Regions from separate parts of the Homo sapiens genome. Here region 2 is linked to region 1. Evidence: promoter capture Hi-C in human tissues and cell types (Jung and others, 2019). All regions are on one chromosome and are shown on one strand. Each heading gives the region's core, a stretch centred on a gene start or on the middle of the fragment in contact. The rest is flanking DNA. Distances are from core to core; before and after follow the strand shown.

The links. The method cuts DNA at HindIII sites, captures the fragments that hold promoters and counts their contacts. A contact is called where the count stands out against the background at its distance.
Region 2: a contact is called between a fragment that was not itself captured here and the fragment with the promoter of CHRDL2 in region 1, in 2 of the 25 tissues and cell types used here (IMR-90 fibroblasts and bladder).

What each region holds. Positions count from the first base shown.
Region 1 is chr11:74,729,685-74,735,482 of GRCh38, reverse strand. It overlaps CHRDL2 (chordin like 2), which reads left to right and starts at 4,057. Exons shown (of 11, transcript NM_001278473.3): 1 at 4,057-4,676. The coding sequence starts at 4,595. The HindIII fragment of the contact is 7,141 bases long and covers 1,498-5,798 here.
Region 2 is chr11:74,647,911-74,654,641 of GRCh38, reverse strand. It overlaps a transcript of POLD3 not described here and the pseudogene RANP3. Among named protein-coding and RNA genes, the nearest start is that of POLD3, 59 kb to the right of the region's middle. The HindIII fragment of the contact is 9,872 bases long and covers 1-6,731 here.

The DNA of each region.
Region 1 (5,798 bases), core at 2,808-5,307:
GGAGGAGGTGGCCTTTTAGTCACAAATAGCATGTCACATGAGGACTGTTTGAAGGAACTAGGATATTATTCAACAAACCTTTATTTAGCAGCAAATATGTGCAAAGCTGTGTGTTGAAGGCTAGGGAAGATATTAAATAGTAGTCTATGTTCTCAAAGAACTCACTATAGAGGAGGTGACACAAAACCTATTGAAAATACAATGTAGTAAGTGCTATAACAAAGAAGTATGGAGCAGAACGGAGCTAACTCAGAGACCAGCAAAGAGGATTCAGAGCACCTAGAATACAAGTGTCGGTGTCTGTCTTGTTCTCCACTGTGTCCCTAGCACCTAGCACTATGTCTGGCCCAGAATTTGCACTCAATAATTGTTGCATGAGTGAAGGAGTTAGCAATTACCTTAACCCTTGAAAAATAAGTAAGCTTGCCAGACAAATCAAAGTGAGTACAGAGAGGGCATTCCAGGGCGAAGAAACAGTGTTTGCAGAGTCATGGAGGCCCAAGAGCTTGGCACATTTGAAGACAATGTTTAATATGGCATGAGGGGTCCCGGGACCCAGACTGGTAAAGGTGAAGGTATGGAAGAGGGGTTCTCTGCCCCAAATCTCTAGAGAGCTCTCAAAAGACAAAAGGACTTGGCTTGTTCTGTATAGCCCTGGGGACAGAGTGAGGGGCAACACAGGCAGTCACAGAGAATCAGATTTCAGTTTAATATAAAGAACTTTCTAACAGAGCTGTCCAACAGTGGAATGGGCTGCCTTGGCAGGCAATGAGCAAGTTCGCTATGAAGGAAGAAAGCAGATGCCAGATAAACTCTTAGTGCAACAAACTGCTATGGGGAGATGCATTTTTTTTTCCTGACTAGATTTTGGAAGAATTTATTCAGTCTCCTTTTTAAAAGGGTATTAAATAATATATAGACAACTCTCTTCAATAGTATTTCTACAGAAGACACAAAGACTTTCTTTCTTTCTTTTTTTCTTTTTGAGACAGTCTTGCTCTGGAGTGCAGTGGTGCAAACACGGCTCACTGCAGCCTCAACCTCCTGGGCTCAAGCGATCCTCCTGCCTCAGCCTTCAGAGTAGCTAGGACTACAGGTGCGTGCCACTATGCCCAGCTATCTTTTTTACTTTTTGTAGAGACGAAGTTGGGGGGGGGTCTCACTTTGTTGCCCAGGCTGGTCTTAAACTCCTAGGCTCAAGCCATCTTCCCACCTCAGCCTCCCAAAGTGCTGGGATTACAGGTGTGAGCCACTGGGCCCGGCCTGACACAGAAACTTTCAAGTGTTTGTTTCTTATGTCAATCATTGACTAAAGCTGAGGCCAATAGTGGGCTGAAGGCTTTTCCAATCACTGAGGTCTTCACTCATTCATGTAGCAATTATTTATTCAGTATCTGTGTGTCAAGGACTTTGCTAAATGCTCGAATTACAGATATAAATTTCAAAAGGCACCTGCACTCACAGTGCAGGGTAAAAATGCAAATAAATACTTACACTCCAACAGCTACAATTCAAAGTGCTATGGGAAACACAAAGACTAAACATTGACTTTGCCTGGGGGACTCAGGGAAGACCTTGGAGTGGAGGTGACTCAACTGACCTTTGGAAAGTTAAATGGGATTCACTAGATGGAGGAAGAGAGAGTCCAGGCAGAAGGAAAACATGTGTGAGGATATGGAGGTGCGACGACGCATGGTCAGTTTGGGGAGGTGAGCGGTTGGCCAAAGTGTAGGGTAGGTGGCAATGGTAGATTGGAACTAAAATATGCGTGGTGTTCAATTCAGTGCTGAAAATTTTAGATTTTAACCTATAAATGATAGGAAGTGAATAATAGGTTTTATGTGGGAAAGTGATGTGATCAGATTTGTCAGTAGAAATGATCAGCATAGTTCTCAAGGCAGGTGTGAGGAAAATAGATAGGAGAGATCCAGATTAGGGGGAGGAGACCTGGTAAGAGGCTGTTGGGAAAGTTCAAGTAAGGAATGAAGATGGCCGGGTGCGGTGGCTCATGCTTGTAATCCCAGCACTTTGGGAGGCTGAGGTGAGTGGATCAGCTGAGGTCAGGAGTTCAAGACCAGCTTGGCCAACATGGCGAAACCCCATCTCTACTAAAAATACAAAAATTATAGGTGGTGCATGCCTGTAATCCCAGCTACTCGGGAGGCTGAGGCAGAAGAATCGCTTGAACCCAGAGGCAGAGGTTGCAGTGAGCCCAGATCACGCCACTGCACTCCAGCCTGGGCGACAAGCGCAAAACTCCATCTCAAAAAAAAAAAAAAAAGGAATGAAGTTGGCCTCAACTCTGGGGATAATAGGGATGGACAGGAGGGCTGAGATGGTGGAGGCCTTTTTTGAAGTATGATGGGCAGGATGTAGGGGAACCCATCTTAATCCACTTCTTACATCTAAGACATGAATATATGTGCACAGCACATTTTAAACAAAGAGAAAGGAAAAGATCACTGTCCCAAACCCTTGGGATGAGATTGTTTATGCAATTAAGCAGCACAGGATTTAACTCTGAGATCCCTGGAAGCAAAGGCAAAAAGGGAAGCATGGTGACATGCATAAGCTTGCACTATCTGTTAAAATAAAGAATACTCAGGGGAAAGGAAGAGACTGGCCAGATTAGAGTAGAAATTAAGCCTGAAGGGCACTGGACAGATCATGTTTGTCCCTGATCCTGAGAGCCCTAGGAAGGGCCAGTTTGGGGATCACTGGTTCCTCCTACTGCTCTCTTTTGGAGGGTGGAGATCTTGGGGGTAATACCCTGAAAGCACAGTGCAATGGGGAGCCCAGCCTTGGCCCAGAAAGATACCTTTACAGCCAGCCAGCCAAGTGTTTAAACCCGGAAATATGATTCCCTACCAGAGTGGGATATGGCTCAACATCCCTTCCCACCTCATACTCCTCTGGCACTCTTTGGAGTCTCCATTAGCTCTTCAAGAGAAGCTGGGCAGAAAGTTGAGGTCCAAAGCAAGGATAGATGTATTTACTCAAAGTGGCCCAACAAGTTACGGATGGAGCCAGGACAGTGACTCTGCCCTTTTGATTTCAGAGCTTGTGTGTTTCTGGTCTGGCCAGAGCTGGCTATTCTCTTCTTAGTGTCCTATTAGTGCATGTGTTCATTCAACACAAGAGATGGAGCACCATTTGAGGGCTGGAGGGTGTCAGGGCCCTGTCCTCAGGGAGCTCCCCTTCTGGTGGGAAAGAAAACTCTTTGACAATCAGCTCTCCCTAAAGATGACTGAAGGTGACCATCACTCCCAGAGAAGTGCAGGCCTCACCTGCAAAGGCAAAGGAGAGATCTTGCCTTGATTCGGGAGTGGGAGCGGGGAGCAGAGGAAGACCTCCAGGGGAAGGCACAGGATCCCTATGGGCTGACTTTCCTGAGAATGGCGCATGGGCAGACGGAGTGGGGACAGGGGCCACTGGTATTGTAGGCACCTGGAATTAGGACCCCTTCTCTTTGTGGGGTGAGTGTTTCGACGTTCATTACCTTATTTCATCTTAGCAACACTCGTGGGAAGATAGTAGAGATATTTTAAGATCTTAAAATGCCCATTTTAAAGCTGGGAAAACAGACTCTCCGGTGGCGTGCTGTAGACCACAAACTGAATTAAGAACGCCAGTGTTCTGATTCCATCCATCTGCGGAGTTCCGGGCACGCACCGCCGAGCGCCTTACCCTGAGCCTTCCCGGTACCCGCAGCCCCGACAGCTCAGCCTTCCCCACCTGAAAGTTCCACCTGAGGTCTCCCTCAACTCTGCCCTCCTGCATTCTTGGCGTCGCGGGGAGTCAGGGGTTAAACCCCGTGGCCCGCGTGGCCCCTTCCCCCTCCGCAGCCCCCTCGCCTCCACTCGGCGCCGCGCCTGGAGCGTCCGTCCCGGAGACCCGCACAAGAGAGGAGGGGAAAAAGTGGGCCTGTTTCTCGGGTGGCCAATCCACCGAGCCCGCGGTGCCCCAGAGGAGGCGCCAGCGCTAGGCCAGCGCCAGGCCGGGCTGCCTGCTTCCCGCGGCAAAGTACAAATGCGCCCGAGCGCGGCGCCTGAAGCCCTTGGCGAGCACAGCCGGCCCGCGCTCAGCCTCCCTCCGCGGCCGCCGCGCCGCCGCCGCTGCTGGGACCGCCGCCCCGCCGGGCCCCAGGCCCCCGCGGCCCGACCCCGAGCCCACCGAGCAGGGGGCGCCGGCCGCCTCTAGCCCGCGCGCCCGCAACACCCGCTGGTCCCGCGCGCCTCGCCCGGCGCTGCGCGCTCGGCAGACGCCGGTCCTCTCCCTGCTTTCTCCTCCTCTCCCTCTCACCTTCCCCCTTTCTTTGATCGCCTCTCCCTTCTGCTGGACCTTCCTTCGTCTCTCCATCTCTCCCTCCTTTCCCCGCGTTCTCTTTCCACCTTTCTCTTCTTCCCACCTTAGACCTCCCTTCCTGCCCTCCTTTCCTGCCCACCGCTGCTTCCTGGCCCTTCTCCGACCCCGCTCTAGCAGCAGACCTCCTGGGGTCTGTGGGTTGATCTGTGGCCCCTGTGCCTCCGTGTCCTTTTCGTCTCCCTTCCTCCCGACTCCGCTCCCGGACCAGCGGCCTGACCCTGGGGAAAGGATGGTTCCCGAGGTGAGGGTCCTCTCCTCCTTGCTGGGACTCGCGCTGCTCTGGTTCCCCCTGGACTCCCACGCTCGAGCCCGTAAGTAGACCGGGAGGCTGGGTGGGCAGAGGAGGGATGCGGCCCCTGGAATGTGAGGGACAGCGCCAGGACCTGGACCCCAAGCTCTTCTGACAGCCGTCCAGGCAGCACCTGTGCCGGAGGGGTGGAGACTCCGTGAGGACCAGTATGGGCCGGGGGACCGGAGGAACTCGGCACAACTCAGAACTGAGAGAGGGCTGCTGCCAGGGACCTGAGGAGGGGCACCAAGGGCAGCGGGGGGAGAGGGCAGGGCACTGTGTTTTGGGTTGGGGGAGGACTTACTGTTCCTAGGAGGGAGTCGGGTATGTCTGGCTACAGGTAAGGAGTGTGATGGAGAAGAAAAGGCTTTTTGCCTTTGGAAAGAGCCATTGGACAGAAATGAGAGGTAATTAGGATAACCTTCCCATTCTTTTCTCTCTTTTGATCCTCGCAACTCTCCAGTGAGGTGGGTATTATCATTCGCACTTTACAGATGAGAAAACTTAGGCTGAGCAAGGAGGAACTTGCTAAAACTTACAGAGCGGGTAAGCCATCCAAAGCCAGAACTCTAGTTCCAGATCCCATGCTTTATTCCCTGCCTCACATTGTCTAGAAGGAACCCTGAATTTGCAGTGTGAGACTCTGGGAGGCGGCAGGGCACAGTGAGATAGACCAGCGTCTTCACCATCCCAGCCCCGCTGAATGCCAGCTGCTGGGAGGCCGTCACAGAGTGCACCTCTCTGACCCTGGGTTTCCTAATCTATAAAGCGGAAGTAAAAATCCTAGGAGAGTTGATAGGATTAAATTAGAGAAAAGAGGTAAAGCAGCTAGCACAAGACTGGTGCTTGATAGCTTCCAAAAAAAATCAGTTCCCAATTATGCTTTTCCACATAGATACAGTGTAACATCAAACAGGTTACATCATCAATCTGAGCCTCAGTTTCCTCACTGCGCCCACAATAGGCTGGTGGTCCCCCCTCCCCATGCCCAGCCAATCTCTTAGAATGCTGTGAGGATGGAAAACCAAACCACATTCTCTTAATCAGAAGAAAGGAGCTTCATTCAAGCAGTGGGTTTCTCCAGGACATACATGGCACAGCCTGGGATTAAGACCCTGCGTTCCCAACTCCTAGTCTGGTGCTC
Region 2 (6,731 bases), core at 1,711-4,210, 80 kb after region 1:
CCAGGTTAAAACACCACAGACTCCCACTATTTTTACTTGAGGGTCAGTAGTTTTTCACGAATAAATGCTTCTCAATTTGTTGTAAGCCTTTAATCAATTTTGTTTTTGACAATTTCTTTTTAAAGAGGATTTTCTGAGCTTCTTACTCTGTCATTCCAGAAGTCCTGCTCATCATTCTATATTCCCCTAAATTACAGATTTATCTACTTGTTTTTAGTTCTGTTTTATTTAATGTTATTGTGTGCACGTTTACGAGTATTATATCTTCTTGATTAACTCTCTTATTATGTCTCTTTACATCTGGTAATACTCCTTGTTCTGAAGTCTACTTCATGTGATATTAATATAGCCACTCCAGGTTTCTTATGATTTGTGTACGCATGGTCTTTTTCTGTCCTACTACTTTTAACCTATCTGCATCTTTATGTTTAACATGCTTTCCTGTAAACAGCATGATATAGTTTGGATGTTGTCCCCTCAAAGCCTCATGTTGAAATGTGATCCCTCATCTTGGAAGTCAGGGCTGAGGGGAGGTGTTTGAGTCATCTGGGGGGATCACTCATGGTTTGGTGTTGTCCTCCCAATAGTAAGTCCTCATGAGATCTGGTTGAGCAAAAGTGTGTGGCATCTCCCCTCCCCTTCTTTCTCTTGCTCCTGCTCTGGCCATGTGACATGCCTGTTCCTGCTTTACCTTCTGCCATGAGTAAAAGCTCCCTGAGGCCTCCCCAGAAGCTAAGCTGATGCTGGCACCATGCTTGTACAGCCTGCAGAACCATGAGACAATTAAACCTCTTTCCTTGTAAATTACCCAGTCTTAGGTATTTCTTTACAGCAACGCAAGAACAGACTAGCACACAGCATATTTGTATCCATTTGTAAAAAAAAAATCTAGCCTGGTAATTTCTGCCTTTTAATTGAAGTGTTCATTCCATTTACATTTAATGTTGATATGGTTAAGTCTAATGTCTTTTTATTGCTTTCTATTTGTCCCATCTATTCTTTGTCCTTTTTTTCCTTCTTTTCTAACATTCATTGGTAATTTTAGTATTCCATTTCATCTGCATTATTGGCTTATTAACTATACTTTGGAGTTATACATTGTGGTTTTCAGTGGTTGCTCTCAGGTTTACAATACGCATATTTAACTTAAAACAGTTAAGTTGTTTAAAAAGTTATTAATTTAAAAATAATATACCACCTCAAGTATAACATAAGAAGAAGAGTATACTATACTTCCATACTCCCTCCTCATCCTTTGTGCTAGTTTTGTCAAGTATTTTATTTCTACTTATGTTATGGACCACACTATGTGTGTGTGTATCTCTCTTAGGTATTTGAAATACAACTTTATTCTGTTTCTAAATGAAAAGGAATGGGAATGGCAGTAAAATAAGATCCTCACCACTGAATATTATGATGTTAAGTATTAGGTTGGTGCAAAAGTTACTGTGGTTTTTGCAATACTTTGGCAAAAACTGCCATTACTTTTGTACCAACCTAATATATATGAAACTCCAGAAGGAAACAACAAAAACAGCTAAATATGCAGGTCCAAAAATTGAAGGTATTTTTGAAGTCCATTCATCTCCTTCAGCATCCCAAAGATAAAGCACATGTTCTGCTTAGCTACACAATAAAATGGCAAACATGCTACACCACTGACAGCACAGCACAGATGCTTATAAAACTATACTTCTGATGCTGGGCTCCAGATTAATTTTCTTACAGATCATCATTCTCATCCGGGAGAACATTTGAACAACCTGTAAATCATGATATATTGTGCTGCCAAAGCTGGGTCCATGACAACCTCTTGTGGGGCAAGGGCAAGCATGGCAACAAACTCCAAGTTAGGATCTCCAATTAGTTTTGTAGCAAGCCAGAGGAAGGGCTTTTCCAAGTTGGAGTTACTTTTAGCAGAATGTCACAATGCTGAGGATTCTTCCTTTAGTAGAATACAATAGAGTTTGCCTTCACTTTCCTATCTTTAATGTCTATGTTGTGTGCCTCTTCACAGTGAACAATGCCTTCGGGAGTTTTCTGCCTCCTTTGGGCACTATCTCTATAGCTTCATCTTCTTCCTCAATTCAAATTGCCAAAGCCTGGTTGAGTTTCCCATCTCTAAGTGAACAAAATATGTATGATTAGAAAGTAAGCTCTATTCAGTTTTGCTTAAATTAGAGTTGGTCTCTATTACTTGAAGCACTGAGAAAGTCACTGTCATATACTGATGATGATACGCAACCTTTGGGAAGACAAGTTGGCAATATGTATGAAAAGTTTCTTAAAATGTATATCCTTTGACACAGTAATTCTATTCCTAACAATCTATCCTAACAATAATCTAAAATGGGCATCAAAGATATGGTTGTAGTTACCCAAAATGCAAGCATAATGCTCTGGAGGGATTTGTTGCTAACAGACTTGCTTAAAAGTTGCTTTCGAGACATTCAATTTGCAGATGAGAGCTGTTATTACAAGGCATTTAGGTCTAAAATTTGGCCATCTAGAGTATGTGAAGGGAAAGAAAACCCTCTCAACTTTGTAATGTGATATAGTATTGAGAAAAGTAGACTAAAATTTTAGAGATCAAGTTCTACCACTGACTTGCCTAGTGGTCTTGGTAAGTTACCTATCATCCCTGGGGCCTATTTCCTCAGCTACAAAATGGAGGTACTATCTGCTCTATCTACCTCTGACAGCCATGTAAGGCTGAGTCCAGCTTTCCCCTCTGTATGTACTAGTAAAGCCTTTGTAATGACAGGAATTGTTTTCAATGACTTCCCTTTGTCTTTAGATATGACAGAATCCTTACCATAGCCGACAAGGTTCTGAACCATCTGGCCCAGCCTCCCTCTCTAGCCTGATCTTGGCATGACCTCCCTGTTGGTCACCAGGCTACAGCCACATGCCCACCCTGGACTTTCACAAATGCTCTTCCCTCTCCCTGAAATACTGTACCATCTTTGCCTGGTCAACTACTTATCTGTAAAGTCTGACTTAAATGTCACTTTCACCAAGAAATCTCTGACAACCCCCAACATGGCCCTCCTGTGTGGTTTTTCTCCTAGTGCCCTGTACAGATCCTTTTATAAGGCTTATCACAATGGTCATTACATAATTGTTCATGCAATTATTTATTTGGTTGTCTCTCTCTTTCAAAACTCCTTGAGAGCACGTTCTGTTTCTGCCTTGTTCATGACTGTGTAGTTTTAGGGCTTGGCAGTACCCTCTATGGAGACACAAGGTAATTTGTTAAATGAATGAATTCTTAAACTCTTACAGCATCAGGGATAGAGAACTAATGCTTTCAACCAAGTTGATAAAACTGAAGCCCAGAGAAGAGAATGACTTTCCCAGGATCACATGGCCAGTGAGTAGAAGAGGCAGTTTTATAATTCATTAATTCATTCAATAAATATTTTCTAAGAGCCTACTATGTTCTAGGCACTGTCCTAGGTACTGGAGATAGAATGATAGACAGTCCGTGACTTCCTAGAACTTATATTGTGGTGGAGGAGATAGCCAATAAGCAGATAAACAGATACACAATTAGCAGAGATAGTGATAAGTGCCATGAAGAGGTGCTCTGTAGACAGAAAGCACATAACCACCAAGCACTCAAACCCGTGCTTTCTGCGTCCAAGTGCAGGGCTCTTTCCACTACACCACACTGTCTGCCCGAAGTAAACAAACAAAACCATAATTTATGAGGCTCCCTCAGCTGCCTGTGTGTGCACTTGGTGGGGTGAAACCCTCATGCTGTCCATGAAGAAGAGCCAACATCATCAGAAGCGGCAGCTGACTGGCTTGCCTACTAAAGCAGGTGTCATGGCACTAGCCAGCCCAGCCTCTGCTGCCTTGAAACTTCACATCTGGCACCCAAAGAGAGAGAGTGTGTGTGTTTAAATAAGACAGCTATTGAATGAGTGGACTGAGGAGGGTTGGAGTTGGCTGGTCTTAAGGAATGATGCAAACCACAAGGGGACAGTGCTCAGGAGGTGAACAGAGAAAACAGATGGGCTCAAACTGCAGGCGTGACTATAGCCCAAGCACCCCATACATCATTGGGAGAGGCTTCTTTGCTGCCAAAGATCTGTTTATTTTTTCATTAATAAACAGCATTCTCTGATGTCTGTACTTGAGGAAATAGAATGCATACTCAGACCTTTGGCTTTCCTCTAAACGACTTCAAGTAGAAATATGGTTGAAACAAGGGTGTGTTGTGTAGCACACAGAATGACACGCAGCCCACCTGAAAGGTAGGGGTGCTGGTGGGACAAAGGGGAGTCAGGAATTTGACAGGTGAGCAGAACTGCAAGGAAACACTGGGTCCATTAGCCCTCCCTCCTCACTTTGTTAGAACCTCAGTTTTGACAGTCTGATGTGCTGTCTACAGCACAAAGTAGGCACTCCAATAAAGGTTAGTTGGCAAAAAAATTAGCAAAGTACGACAACTCATTTTTCTCACACAGGTAAGATTAAAGTCCAAAGCATTACTCTGAAACAATAAAAACCCAACCACTATAAACTGGGCACTTTATATTTGTTATCTCTAATCCTCACAATAACCTTGAGGTAGATACAAGCTTCATCTTACAGATGAGCAGACTGAGGCTCAGAGAAATTTGGTGACTTTCTGGGAGTCACGCTGATAGTAAAAGGGCATGAACTCCAGTTTGCCTGACTCTAAAGTCCAAGGACTTTCTACAACATCAAAAAGTGAGCCAGTCTGCTCTCCAACTGCAGCCAGAGTACTTTCCAAAATGTAAGTATCTCTCTCTCTCTCTCAAATAAATAAAGATGGGGTTTCACCATGTTGGCCAGGCTGGTCTCGAACTCCTGGCCTCAAGTGATCTACCTGCCTCGGTCTCCCAAAGTGCTGGGATTACAGGCATGAACCACCGCACGTGGCCAAAAAGCAACTGTCTCTTGCTGCTTTGCTGCTTCTAAAGTGTACAGGCTGGGAAGACATATAACATGTATTATGAACTATGCACAATTCTAAGATAGAGTGGGGGGTTTCATGCAGGAGCTTCAGGATAGCTGTTGCTGTATTTTAGGGGTGAGCTTTGGAGTTCACAGCAAAACTTACTGCTAGAAAAGAATTAAATCATTGGTACATTTCTAAGTATAATGGTCATTCAATGTCTAATATGAATGTCACTTATGATATGCAAGAATGTTTACAACACTCCACGCCACTGGAAAAAACTTACACTAAGAATGGATGACAATAGGATACTCTGTCTGCCTCTCAAATCCCAGCTCTACCATGTACTAGCTGGACAGCCTTTCTACCATTGAATTTCCTAATTCATCAAATTGGGCTGATACCTACACCTCACAAAGTTGTTACGGATCAAATGATATAAAGTATATGAAAGCATCTGGCATAGAATAGGTGTTAGTAAGATTTGGGATGAATTTAGTTGATCAGTCTAGGACTATGGGTCATTTTTGACCCAAAGAATTCCAGGGAGATGCAGTCAGTTCCAGGTCTGAATCAGTGTGTGTATGTGCGTCAGAGAATGGCCTACATGAATCCTTGGTGAAACCGTGGAACCAATCCCATCTCCATGGTTTAACTAGGACCATGGCTCAGGCAAGAGCCAGAGAATTTCCAAGCATGAGACGACCTAGCAAAAGGCTAATCATTCCACATTTGAAGTCACTCCTAATACTCTCCTCTCCTGAGTTTCCAAGGGGATCAAAGGAGTCATCTGCCTAAAACAAAACTAGATCTAACTTCAAATTATTTTCCTCTGCTTGTTCTAACTCAAGATACAGGTTCAATTTGGCTGTTACTTATGATCTACTTTATACCTTTAGGCTACTAAAGCTGATCTTTCTAATGTACGAATCTGACATGTTAAAATTCAGTGGCTTCCTATTGCCTATAGTGCAAGGTCTAAACTACTTAGCAAAGACCTCTGTGAGCTGGCCTCTGCCTACTTATATGGCCTCATAGCCAACCATTCTGCCTCTCACTAAACCACTTACAACTCTCTAAACAGTCTGTGCTTTCTTGTGTGTCCATGCCTTTGTATGTCCTGTTCCTTCTGCCTGGTATGCCCTTCTCGCTTTCCATCTGGCAAACTCCTATTTTTCTCAAGACCTGTTTAAGCACTTCCTCCTCTGTGAATCTTCCCTTAATCCCTCAGGCAGTCACAGGCAACCCTTTCTTGGGACCACACTGACCTATGGACACACACCTCCTTTACACAGGAGGAGGAAGGACATGGTACAGTAGTCAGAATATAGACTTCAAGTCAGAAAGACTAGAGTTCAAATGTGGCCCTCTCCCCAGGCCAGCTAGAACACCAACCAGAGGGGAGAAAGCCTTCATCTCTAGCCTAACATATAGTCCACTGGTGTGGTTTCCTTAAGTGGAGATACAAGCTGCAGATCGTAGCCAAAAAGACTCAGACTTACTGGCAAGATCACACCTACCTGAGAATGACAATTGTAAAGGTATAATTCATTTTGCTCCTTTTGATCCACCCAAAGGGAAGTTGACTTCCATGCAGGTTTGCTAATCACAAGCGTTCAAATATACTAGTTTCTCTAACTTTTCATTATAAATTATTAAACAGAGACATGTCTCACCTTTGCCACTTATTGGGCAAATCATTTAAACTCTCCGAGCCTTCCTGTCTTCATGTGTAAATAAAGTGTTGTGAGGATTAGAGAAAGTGTATTAAATATCTAGCAAAAATTTGAGCCCGTGG